2 separate regions of the Homo sapiens genome follow, and region 1 is linked to region 2. Evidence: promoter capture Hi-C in 16 types of primary human blood cells and fetal thymus (Javierre and others, 2016). All regions are on one chromosome and are shown on one strand. The core of a region is centred on a gene start or on the middle of the fragment in contact, and the rest is flanking DNA. Distances in the headings are between cores, read along the strand shown.

Region 1 (5,567 bases), core at 771-3,270, 110 kb before region 2:
GTGGTCTGCGTGAGACTAGGCCTGGAAGGTAGCCTGGGCTGGGCGTGTAGACACATCTGGGATAGGACTGGATCCCTCATTAGAGGTCTGAGGGTGAGCTGGGCAGGACACACCTGGGTTTCTGGTTCCAGGCTATGGAATCTTTCTTGCTTGCTTGCATTTTTTTTCTTTTTTGAGACAGAATCTCACTCTGTCGCCCAGGCTGGGGTACAGTGCATGATCTTAGCTCATTGCAACCTCCATCTCCTGGGTTCAAGCAATTCTTCTGCCTCAGCCTCCCGAGTAGCTGGGATTACAGGTGCATGCCACTATGCCTGGCTAATTTTTGCATTATTTATTTATTTATTTATTTATTTTTAGACAGAGTTTCGCTCTCGTTGCCCTAGTTGGAGTGCAGTGACACAATCTCGGCTCACTGCAACCTCCGCTTCCTGGATTCAAGTGATTCTCCTGCCTCAGCCTCCCAAGTAGCTGGGACTACAGGCGCGTGCCACCACGCCTGGCTAATTTTTTGTATTTTTAGTAGAGACGGGGTTTCACCATGTTAGCCAGGCTGGTCTCGAACTCCTGACCTCAGGTGATTGACCCGCCTCGGCCTCCCAAAGTGCTGGGATTGCAGGCATGAGCCACCTCATCCGGCCTAATTTTTGTATTTTTAGTAGAGATGGGGTTTTGCCATGTTGGCCAGGATGGTCTCGAACTCCTGACCTCAGGTGATCTGCCTGCCTCAGCCTCCCAAAGTGCTGGGATTATAGGTGTGAGCCACTGCACCTGGCCACATGGAGTCTTTCTTGAGAGAGAAGGTCTGGAAGGGATCAGGGTTTATAGAAAGTGCTAGCATGTGGATTCTCTGAAGACCTGGTTCCCCCCAGCTGGGAGGCTGAAAAGTCCAAAGCTCTCACTGCCCTCTAAAACACCCCCTCCCCAGTAAACTTCTCACTGCTCACTGATGGTTGCAGGTCAGCTGAGGGCACAAGCAGAGGACAGACACCTGTCACTGGGTTTGGTGAGAGGAAGCTTCAGCTACAACTTTGGGGGATGACAGAAGGCAGGGGTAGGACTCTTCAGGGGAAGTTGGGCTGTAAAGGGAGGGGAGAGACTGGATGGTAGGGGGTTGTGAGGGCCAAGCAGTGATTTCAAGGTGGGGGCTTGTAGTCTAAATGTAGGAGGAAAAGAGAGCTGGAAGGAGCCAGGTCTTTAAGGAGGAGGGGTTGGGGACGAGAAGGTGGTGGGGGTCAGGGAGAGGAGGGAAGAGAGGGGTGGCGGCTGCAGGTTCCCCAGGAGGCAGCAGGTGCCTGGATGAAGCACTCTGATAGCGTTTTTGTTTTTTTTTTTTTTTTTGAGATGGAGTTTCGCTCTGTCACCCAGGCTGGAGTGCAGTGGTGCGATCTCGGCTCACTGCAGCCTCCGCCTCCCGGGTTCAAGCGATTCTCCTGCCTCAGCCTCCCGAGTAGCTGGGATTACAGGCGCCTGCCACCACGCCCAGCTAATTTTTGTATTTTTAGTAGAGACGGGGTTTCACTATGTTAGCCAGGATGGTCTCGATCTCCTGACCTCGTGATCCGCCTGCCTTGGCCTCCCAAAGTGTTGGGATTACAGGCGTGAGCCACGGTGCCCGGCCTCTGATAGCTGTTTTTAATGCTTCCTCCCCCCACCCCTCAAGGGGTTTGGGGGAACTCACATCCGTGTTGCAGGAGCGGTGCCGCCTTCTCTCACCCAGACAGTACTTGCCCCCGATGGTTGGCCTGGAAAGGGTGGTGGGATAGGAGAGGGATGAGGCAGTGGGCGATGGGGGCAGGGGTCGCGCTGCCCTCCCGGGTGGGGGTCCTGAGGGCTGACCTGGGGCTGTCGCAGTGACGGCTAGAAGAGGACACGCCGCCGCCACAGGTCCGGCTGCAGTCGCCCCATGGAGTCCACGGCCCCCAGGCTCCGTCCACACCCTCTGGGCGCGACCCAAAGGGGACACAGACCCGTTTGTAGCACCACTGGGTGGGGGGAGACAGGAAGGAGTGAGTCCAGCCCGGAGGACACTCGTCGGCCCCATGCACCGTTCCCCACTCCAGGCCCCAGCCAGAGATATCAGCCTCTCCGGGATGGGCAGAGGCGGGGTCTGAACATGCGAACAGAGTCAGGTTACGTAGGAGAGTGGTCTGGGAGACAGACCAGGTACAAGCGAGAGGCGTGGCCTGAGCACAGGGTGCTTAACGGGGAGGGGTGTAGACAGGACCACGATAAGCGTGGAGACGAGGTGGGGCGTGGCTTCAGGCTGGGGAGGGGAGGTCTACAGGCAGTAGGCGTGGCCAGAGCCGAGGGCAGCACAGGGGATGGGCGTGGCCAATGAGGGAGAGAGCAAACAGTAGGCGTGGCCAGAGCCGTGGGAATCATTACACGGTGGGCGTGGCCAACGCGGGAGGGAGTTAAACAGTAGGCGTGGCCAGAACCAAGGGACGCATAGACGGTGGGCGTGGCCAACGCGGGAAGGAGCAAGCAGTAGGCGTGGCCACAGCCGAGGGAGCACAAATGGCGGGCGTGGCCAATGTGGGAGGGAGCAGATAATAGGCCGAAGGACAGGCGGGTAGGCGTGGCCAACGCGGGAGGTGGCTCAGGGGGCGTGGCCCAGTTGGGGGCCCTGGCCGGCGCTCACCCCCTTGTCGATGGTGTGCGTCTGGCACAGCGTGCCCTCGGCGGCCGGGATGCTGTTGGTGATGCACCGGTTGCTCTTGCTCAGACACCACAGCTCGCTGCAGACCTCCTGCGGGCCGAGGTGCCCGCTCAGGCTCGCCCCCCTCCCTTCCTCCCTGGGGCAGCCCGCCCGGCTTGGGAGGACCCAGATGTCCGGCTCACTGCCGGTCCCAGAGCAGAGAGCCCGGTGCTCCCTTCCTGGCTCGCGGTGGGTCTTCGTGCATCCCCTTGCGGGGCATGGCCTGTGACTTATACTCTCCCAATAAGCTCCATTTATGGAGCACTTTATACATGCCATATACCTCTTTAGGCAGTACTACCCCATCTTACTGGGAGAAAACCAAGCTTCAGACAGGTAAGGTCACACAGCTACTAAGGGAATAGCCTGGAGTTTAACCCAGCTCTTTAATTCAGAGTCTGTGCTCTAACGAACTTTGCAATTCAGTTCCTGGTGCCTTCTGAGTTTCTGGAAGGAAACGTGGGAACTGCTGAGGAATGAACAGGAAGGATTTGGGGTTCTTTTATGGGATGGGCAAAGTAGCCGAAGAGAAAGTGGTGGTTCTGAGAAATCGGCCTGGATGATGACTAGGCCAACGGCCTCATCTCTAGTTTTTTCCAGCTGTTGGTTCTCTTTGTTCCCCCATCTAAACTGGAGAAGCCCCCAACACTTTTAAGCTATGTGGAGGGGTGGGAGTTTGGGAGGGGACAATGCCGAGTTAGGTCTGTGTGGGACATGCCTCTCTTTCTCCAGGTGAAAAATCAGCCCCACCTTCTTCCCGTCTGAATCCTGGATGGGCTGAACTAGTCCCAGGGACTCACTCTGACTCTTAAAGTCCAGGTTAATATCCCTGGAGAAGCCCCAGTGAGTTCAGGTGAAGCAAAATCTCTGACCCTCTTGGCCCACATCCTAAGCAACCTCCCAGCGTCTTTCCTCTAAAAAGTAGGTGGTCCTCTCTGACCCTCTTGGCCCACATCCTAAGCAACCTCCCAGCGTCTTTCCTCTAAGAAGTAGGTGGTCCTTCTGTAATTATCAAGTGTAATCCCCGCTTTGAACCCAATTCTTGTAAGCTTTCCAGATGTGGGACTGGATCGATCAATGGCCACAGGAAAGGACCCTTCCTAGGTCAGCCCCTGAGAGATACCTGTACATATGTAAGAAGCTGGAAGAGTTGTTCTCAAATACATTCTCCCTCAAAGGTCCTCTAGAATCTCTGCCTTCTGCCTTATAGAGGACATTTCTCAGCTAAAAACTCAGACTGTGTCCTCTTGGCCATATCTAAAAATATCACATCAGTCCTGTCGCAATCCCACTTCTGACACCTCTTCAAGATAATGATTTCAGCTCTGCTTTTGTCCTCCTCTCCACAAGGAGGCACTGTGGCATATTTGAGTTGTGCAGAGACCTCAATTCTGCTACCAACTTGCAATATATTTCCCCTCTCTGGGCCTCAGTTTACTCATCTACAAGATGGGCAGCCTAATGCCTGTCTTGCCTATATAAATGGCTATGAGGCACGTGACAGGATAGATAAGAAAGGACTTGCACCAATGCCATTATGGGGTAACAATGACCACCACTATCTCTGGACCAGGCACCAGGCTGAACCCTTTACATATATTAACCAGTTCACATTTAGTAAATAAATCCCCCTTTGCCAAGATGGCCTGAAAGATGTTCCTTCAAAAACTAAAAGGAAGGCTCAATTCAACATATAGCCAGTGCCAGCCCAAGCTTGATATTTTGACAGCTCCTCCCCTCCCCTGCCCCTTTGTAAAATTTAGAGAGTCATGAGAGACCTGGATTTAAATCCCAGCTCTGTCATGGTCTCAAACTGTGGCCTTGGACAAGTCATCCTCCCTATGCTATGGCTCAGTCCCTTCCTCTGTAACGTGGGGGCTAGCAGGATTGTCAGGAGTTTAGATGGTGACACACAGCACATGCTTAGCCCATAGTGAGAGCTCAGTAAATGTCAGACACCATGATCATTGTTAGGATACCTGGGTCACAGCAGATGTTGAGGAGTAGCTTCAGAATTCTTTAGGAATTCCTTAGAGGGTGCTGCAGTTACCAGCTAAGTTAGGATGTTGGGGGGTGTCAAGGGTGGAATGTCAGTGAAATAGAAATTGTTCCAGGGTTTGTCTCTGTCTTGCAGTGGAATGAAGGGAGGGCAATTTGGCAGCTGCTTGCCCTCTGCTTTGCATTAACATGGCATCACAAAAACTCTGATCGTTTGAGTTGTGATAGTGTGAAGAACTGGGGCTGAACCTGGGCCCCTAGGGCTGAGACTGTGAGGAGCTTAGGGGTGCATTTAGGGAATCGAGGCAGGTGGGCAGAGGAGGAGCAGATCCTGGCTGAACCTTGGTGGCTGAAGCAGGAAGCCAGCAGGTCTTCAGCTTCCTGGGGGGAGCTGGGAGTGGAACCTCCTGCCCCCCAATGCCCTTCTCTATGCACGAATGGGGCTTTGGGAATCTAAACCTCAGGAAAGGGTGGGGAGAGGTCAGGAGGCTCAGAGCTCCTCCAGACAGGGAGTCCCTGGAAGGTTCTGTCTAGTTCTTTGCCAAGTAGGAAAGATGGCTCATCCCCAGGGAAATTATTTCCGTCAGGACTGGATGTTTAGTTAAAAACTGCCCCGTGAGAGGTCTTGAGACTTTGATCCTGCTGTAGCCCACAGGGGGTGTGATGTGCCAGACAGAAGCTGGCCCCCCAGCCCAGCCCTCAAATCAGGGGTCTGGAGAAGCAGGTGATCCCATTTTTGTTCCCAAGCACTGTCTGATTGCTTAGGACATTTTGCACACTCCATGCACCTCTGTCCTCCCAGGTCACCATGGGGGCTCACCTCACCCCCCTTCCCGGTTCTCCCACCCCCTCACTTCCCAGGTGGGTG
Region 2 (5,232 bases), core at 1,286-3,785:
GGGTCCACCCTGGGGTTTCGGGGGTGGATCTCAGAATGATGTGTTTTGGGAAGATGGATGGGGGATGGGTGATGGGACCACCTGGTCAGTGGAGGTGGGGCCAGGGGAGGTCTGGGGGAAAAATCCTGAGGGGAGGGGAGAGTTCTGCAGGGATGATGGATGCCAGGGGCATCCCATGGTGGGACCATTGTAGGAGAAACCCTTGAAAGTCAGAATTCAGGTCTCTGTGATGGATCTGGGGGGTCAGCACTTGTGGGGGGCATCCTAGGGGAAACCAATGAAGAGGTGGATTTGGGGTGCTGAGAACCAGGGGTATCTTGACAAGTGGAATCTTGACAAGTGGAATTTAAGAGTGTGTTTGGGGGGATTAGAAATAAGGGGAAGATTATGGGGGTGCACCCAGGGGTTGGAGCACTCACGGGAAGATTCTGGGAGGAGGTTGGAGCATTCCGGGGTAGAGACTGGGTTGGGGGGTCCCTGAGGAGCATACTAAGGGGGGTGGCAGTTTGGAGGGTTTGGAGCCCAGGGGTATTTTGGGATGCTATATCAAAAGCAATAGATAATGGGGTGAGATTAGGGAGTCAGTATTTGAGGATGTCTTGGGCACATAGTGGGTAATTAATGAATGTATGTGGGATCAATGCATGAATCACTTAAACTAGAAATGGAAGGAATTGGGTATGTGGCTTGGGTATGTGGCAGACCCTAGGGGTGTGTGTGGGCATGGGGTGGGTGGTCAGAGGCTTTCATGTTCTTCATGTTTGGGGTTGGGGGCAGGTGCCAGGTGGAGGCTTATCTATGACTCATAGGAGGAGGTGATATTTCTAACAATAGCCTTGAGGTAGTGAACTCCCCATCTCTGGGAGTGTGTAAATGGGAAGGGCACTTGTCAGAGGTGGTCTGGGGAGGGGGTGTCCCAACCCAAGGGTGCCTGGGGAGGGGCACAGATCACAGGAGGATGGGTTGACAGGATTAGAACTTAGTGGTCTGTTGGGAGTTATTCATGGGGAAGGTGGGTTTAGGGGGTCAGGATTGGGGTGTCTCAGGGCATGCATCACAGGAGGTGAGTTAGGTCAGCCTGTGGGGCGAGGTGCCCAGGAGTGGATGGGGCAGGCCCTGGAGGAAGGACAGGACAGAGCCGGCTGTAGCAGAGGCTTTACTGCCCCCACGCCCTCCCCAGCTCTGCCCTGGTCAGTAGCATTTGCGGTACACGATATAGGGACCCTGTTCCTCGTACTGCTCCCGCAGGACCCAGCAGGACTGGAAGGCGCGCAGGGAGGCCAGGATGGAGCCCCCGATCCATACGGAGAAATTCCTGGTGGGCTGGGCAGCCACCACCACGTGGGTCTCGGCTGGCAGAGCGCGCAGCAGCTCTGCCCGGAAGCGACCCTCGAAGCCGGTGAAGAGCGAGGACCCACCGCAGAGAAGCACGTTTTGGGCCAAGTCCGCGCGCATCTCCAGTGACAACTTGCGGAGACTCTGCTTGGCCATGGTGGAGAGGCCGACGGGTGACAGCCCCGGGACCTCTGGGGGGTTGAACAGCAGCTCCGGACACTGGAACAGCTCCTTGCCCAGGGTGACCGTGCGCCCATCGGGCAGCTTCAGAGTCCGCTTGTACTCCTGCTCCGGCCGGGCCTGCTCCTTCTGGAAGTCGGAGGCCACGTAGCAATAGTGGTGCTTAATGTTCTCCACTAGGTCCAGGTCCTGCTGTCCCAGGGGCAGGCCGGCCTGGAGCAGCATCTCCGCCAGGAAGGCGGTCAGGTTGTTGCCCGCCAGGTCCAGACGCTCCGTGGCGTGGAGCAGGTTGTAGCCCTGGAAGACGGGCACTGTGTAGGTGACCCCGTGTCCCGTGTCCACCACCAGCCCGCTGACACGACCGTGGGCGTAGACAGACAGCACCGACTGCGATGCCACGTACATGGCTGGGGAGCGCAGCGACTCGAAGGCCACCTCCACTAGCTTCTCGCGGTTGGTGGCCGGGCTGAAGGGTGGGTCGGAGAACAGCAGCGGGTGGTCGTGGGTGGCCACTCGGAGGTCGTGCTCCAGCAGGTGGCGCCAGATGAGCTCGGCGGCATCCCAGTCCACGACGATGCCGCTGCGCAGGGGTTGCACCAGCGTCAGCTCTGGGAGCACGCGGGCTGCCTCGCCGATGAACGTCTGCAGCCCGGACTGCCCCGAGGTGGCGGGTTTCTTGGGCTGGCAGCCCAGGATGGTGGCCACGGTGTAGGTGGGGCTGGCCTGCCCAGCAAAACCTACCTTACAGGTGCCTGTGCCCATGTCAATAACCACCGCGCCGGTCTTTGGTGGCAGCCTGTCGGCCACCATGCCGGGGGAGTCCCGCTGCAGGGGCTTGTTCACCACGTTGGGACTGGGGTTTGGGCCGGGCCTGGGGGCCTCCAGGGAGGACTGGGATTCCGAGGACTTGGGGCGACTTGCATCCATGGTTGCGGGACGCCAGGTGAGGGGGCTTTTCCTCTGGGGTTGGGGTTGCGGGGAGAAGAGGTTGAGGCCCGGCCAGTGGGGAGGGCAGGCAGACAGGGGGAGGGGTGGGCCCGCAATCTATGACGTCACGGTGCCCCTTCAGTCTTCTTAAGACATCACAATGCAGCCAAGAGGATGGGTCCCTGCCCAGCCCTGCCTGCCCAAAGGCTGTCATCTCTTCTCTGAAGAGCCAAATTTGGAGGAGGAGATGAGCATCTCAGAGCAGGGCCCTCTTAACACATTTCTGTCGGATGCGCTAGAAGCTAATACGATGGCACCTGGTTTTTGAGAAAAGACAAGCTTTTTGTTGCATGTCAACCCACTGGGAGCTAGGAATCCAGCACAAGTCTGTTTCTCAGCTGGCTTTAAGGCAGTAATTTTATTAGAAAAGTTCTGGGGCCGGGGGCTGTGGCTCACACCTGTAATCCCAGCACTTTGGGAGACCGAGGTGGGAGATCACCTGAGGTCAGGAGTTCGAGACCAGCCTGGCCAACATGGTGAAACCCGTCTCTACCAAAAAATACAAAAATTAGCCTGGCATGGTGGCGCATGCCTGTGGTCCCAGCTACTGGGGAGGCTGAGGCAGGAGAATCACTTGAACCCAGGAGGTGGAGGTTGAAGTGAACCAAGATCATGCCACCGCACTCCAGGCTGGGGGATGGAGTGAGACTCTGTCTCAAAAGAAAAAGAAAATAAAAGAAAAAAAATTAGCCAGGCATGGTGGCACATGCCTGTAGTCCCAGCTACTAGGGAGGCTGAGGCAGGAGAATCTCTTGAACCCGGGAGGTGGAGGTTGCAGCGAGCCAAGATCATGCTACTGCACTCCAGCCTGTATGACAGAGCGAGACTCATCTCAAAACAAACAAACAAACAAACAAAGAAACAAACAAAAAACCCTCATAAGTGGAAGGCATTTCAGCAAGTTGTTTCTTTTTTGATCTGCCATTCTGCAAGCTCAAACATTTCTTTGGGGCATGGTTTCACTAAAAACATGCAAAATTGGTTTCTCTAACTCTTTGGGCCACGCTTTCAGGAAGACCCAGGAATCCTCCTCTGGGTACCTCGCCATGAAGCTATTTACAGCCTAGTGGCAGAGAGCTTGCCACAGGCCTCCCTAGAATATTAGAATATTCCTCCTCAGAATATTAATTAGAAGGTGGGGCGGGCTAGCATGGCTTCCTGGTTTCCAAATGGAGACAGAGGCCAGCCTTGGTTGGGGATGGAGAGAGGCAGGGAGAGACAGGAACACCCCTGTCCTAGATTCTTTGCTTCCTCTGCTATATTCACTGCCTGAATCATTCTCCCTGTCCCATTCCTGCCAAGAAGGAATTTGCCTCTTCAAATCTCAGTCTGATGCCACCTCCTCCTGGAAGCCAACCCTGATTTCTACTCTGTACTCCAACTAGATGAGGGATGGGGGAAGTCTGCCTTCTCTCCAGGGGTTGTTACCTGCTTCCTCCTGGCAGGAGAGGGGCTCAGTGAGATACAAGAAGGGGTTTCAGTATAGATAAAAGGGGAGAGGGTGCATTTGGGAGGAAGGAATTATCTCAACAATAAATAGCAGGCTTCAAAATGCATTAGGAGAGTTGCTTCAAGACCATGGCTGTTTTTGGTGATATCAGATATCACCTGTTAGTTAAAGCAAATAAAAACGTTTTTCTTAGTGTATGTTCATGCATGTGGTGGTAGAAATCACCAGGAATAGTGCTAGTGAATGTCTTATGGGATATCTAAATGAAAGAGGTTTAATTTTCTAGTTGTGTCTAGATTTATTACTCTGCCAGAGTGTGGTTTATTGAGCATTTTAATTAATTATTGATTTACTGGTATGTGTGGTCTAATCCATGCTTTTGGAAATATTTACTCAGCAATTTATTGAGGGTCTGTTTTTTGGACTGTTCACAACAACCAGAAATACACTAAGTGATAACACTTTATTGTTTTCAATTTTTTTTTGAGACTGGGTCTTGCTATATTGTCCAGGCTGGAGTGTAGTGGTGCAATCACTGCTCACTGCAGCCTCCTTAACCTCGTGGTCTCAAGCAATCCTCCCACTTCAGCCTCCAAAGTAGCTGGGACTATAGGCATGTGCTACTATCTCCGGATAAGTTTTTAATTTTTTGTAGAAATGGGGTCTTGCTATGTTGCCCAGGCTGATCTTGAGCTCCTGGGCTCAAGTGATCCTCCTGTCTTAACCTCCCAAAGTGCTGGGATGACAGGGATTAGCCACCATGCCTGGCCTTTCTTCATTTTCTGATTTTAAAACATGGCAACTTCTTATGGCAACTTTATGACTTAGGAATGGGTACTATGTCTATTTTTTTGATGGAAAAGAAGCTCAGAGAGGTCAAGTGATTGTTCAAAGTCACAACTGGTATGAGACAGAGGCAGGAGTTGAGCCTACATCTTTGACTTACTTCAGTGGCTGACTGTGAGTCTGGGAAATTGTGAAATCTAAGATCCACCCAAAACAGCCAGGCATGGTGGCTCACATCTGTAGTCCGAGATACTAGGGATGCTGAGGTGGGAGGATCACCTGAGCCCAGGAGTTGGAGGCTGCAGTGAGCCAAGATCACACCACTGCACCCAGCCTGGGTGACAGAGCGAGACCCTGTCTCAAGGAACAAACAAACAAACAAACATACAAACAAACAAGAAAAACCCACTAAAAATAGAACAGAAACAAAGGTTGGGACTCTGTGAGCCTCCATTTCCTCTCTTCTTGGATAAAATGAGGATACCTTGTCTGGC

The links. Contacts are between HindIII fragments. The CHiCAGO score rates a contact against its expected background, and 5 or more counts as called.
Region 1: a contact is called between a fragment that was not itself captured here and the fragment with the promoter of ACTL9 in region 2, in 5 of 17 cell types (monocytes, M0 macrophages, M1 macrophages and 2 more). The highest score is 12.1, in monocytes.

Annotation. Positions count from the first base shown.
Region 1 is chr19:8,590,119-8,595,685 of GRCh38, forward strand. It overlaps ADAMTS10 (ADAM metallopeptidase with thrombospondin type 1 motif 10), which reads right to left. Exons shown (of 26, transcript NM_030957.4): 13 at 2,645-2,752; 14 at 1,840-1,985; 15 at 1,682-1,745. Among named protein-coding and RNA genes, the nearest start is that of MYO1F, 15 kb to the left of the region's middle. RefSeq lists an enhancer at 1,683-2,281. The HindIII fragment of the contact is 2,010 bases long and covers 1,016-3,025 here.
Region 2 is chr19:8,696,260-8,701,491 of GRCh38, forward strand. ACTL9 (actin like 9) reads right to left here and starts at 2,536. Exons shown (of 1, transcript NM_178525.5): 1 at 1,141-2,536. The coding sequence starts at 2,442. The coding sequence ends at 1,192. The HindIII fragment of the contact is 13,278 bases long and covers 1-2,779 here.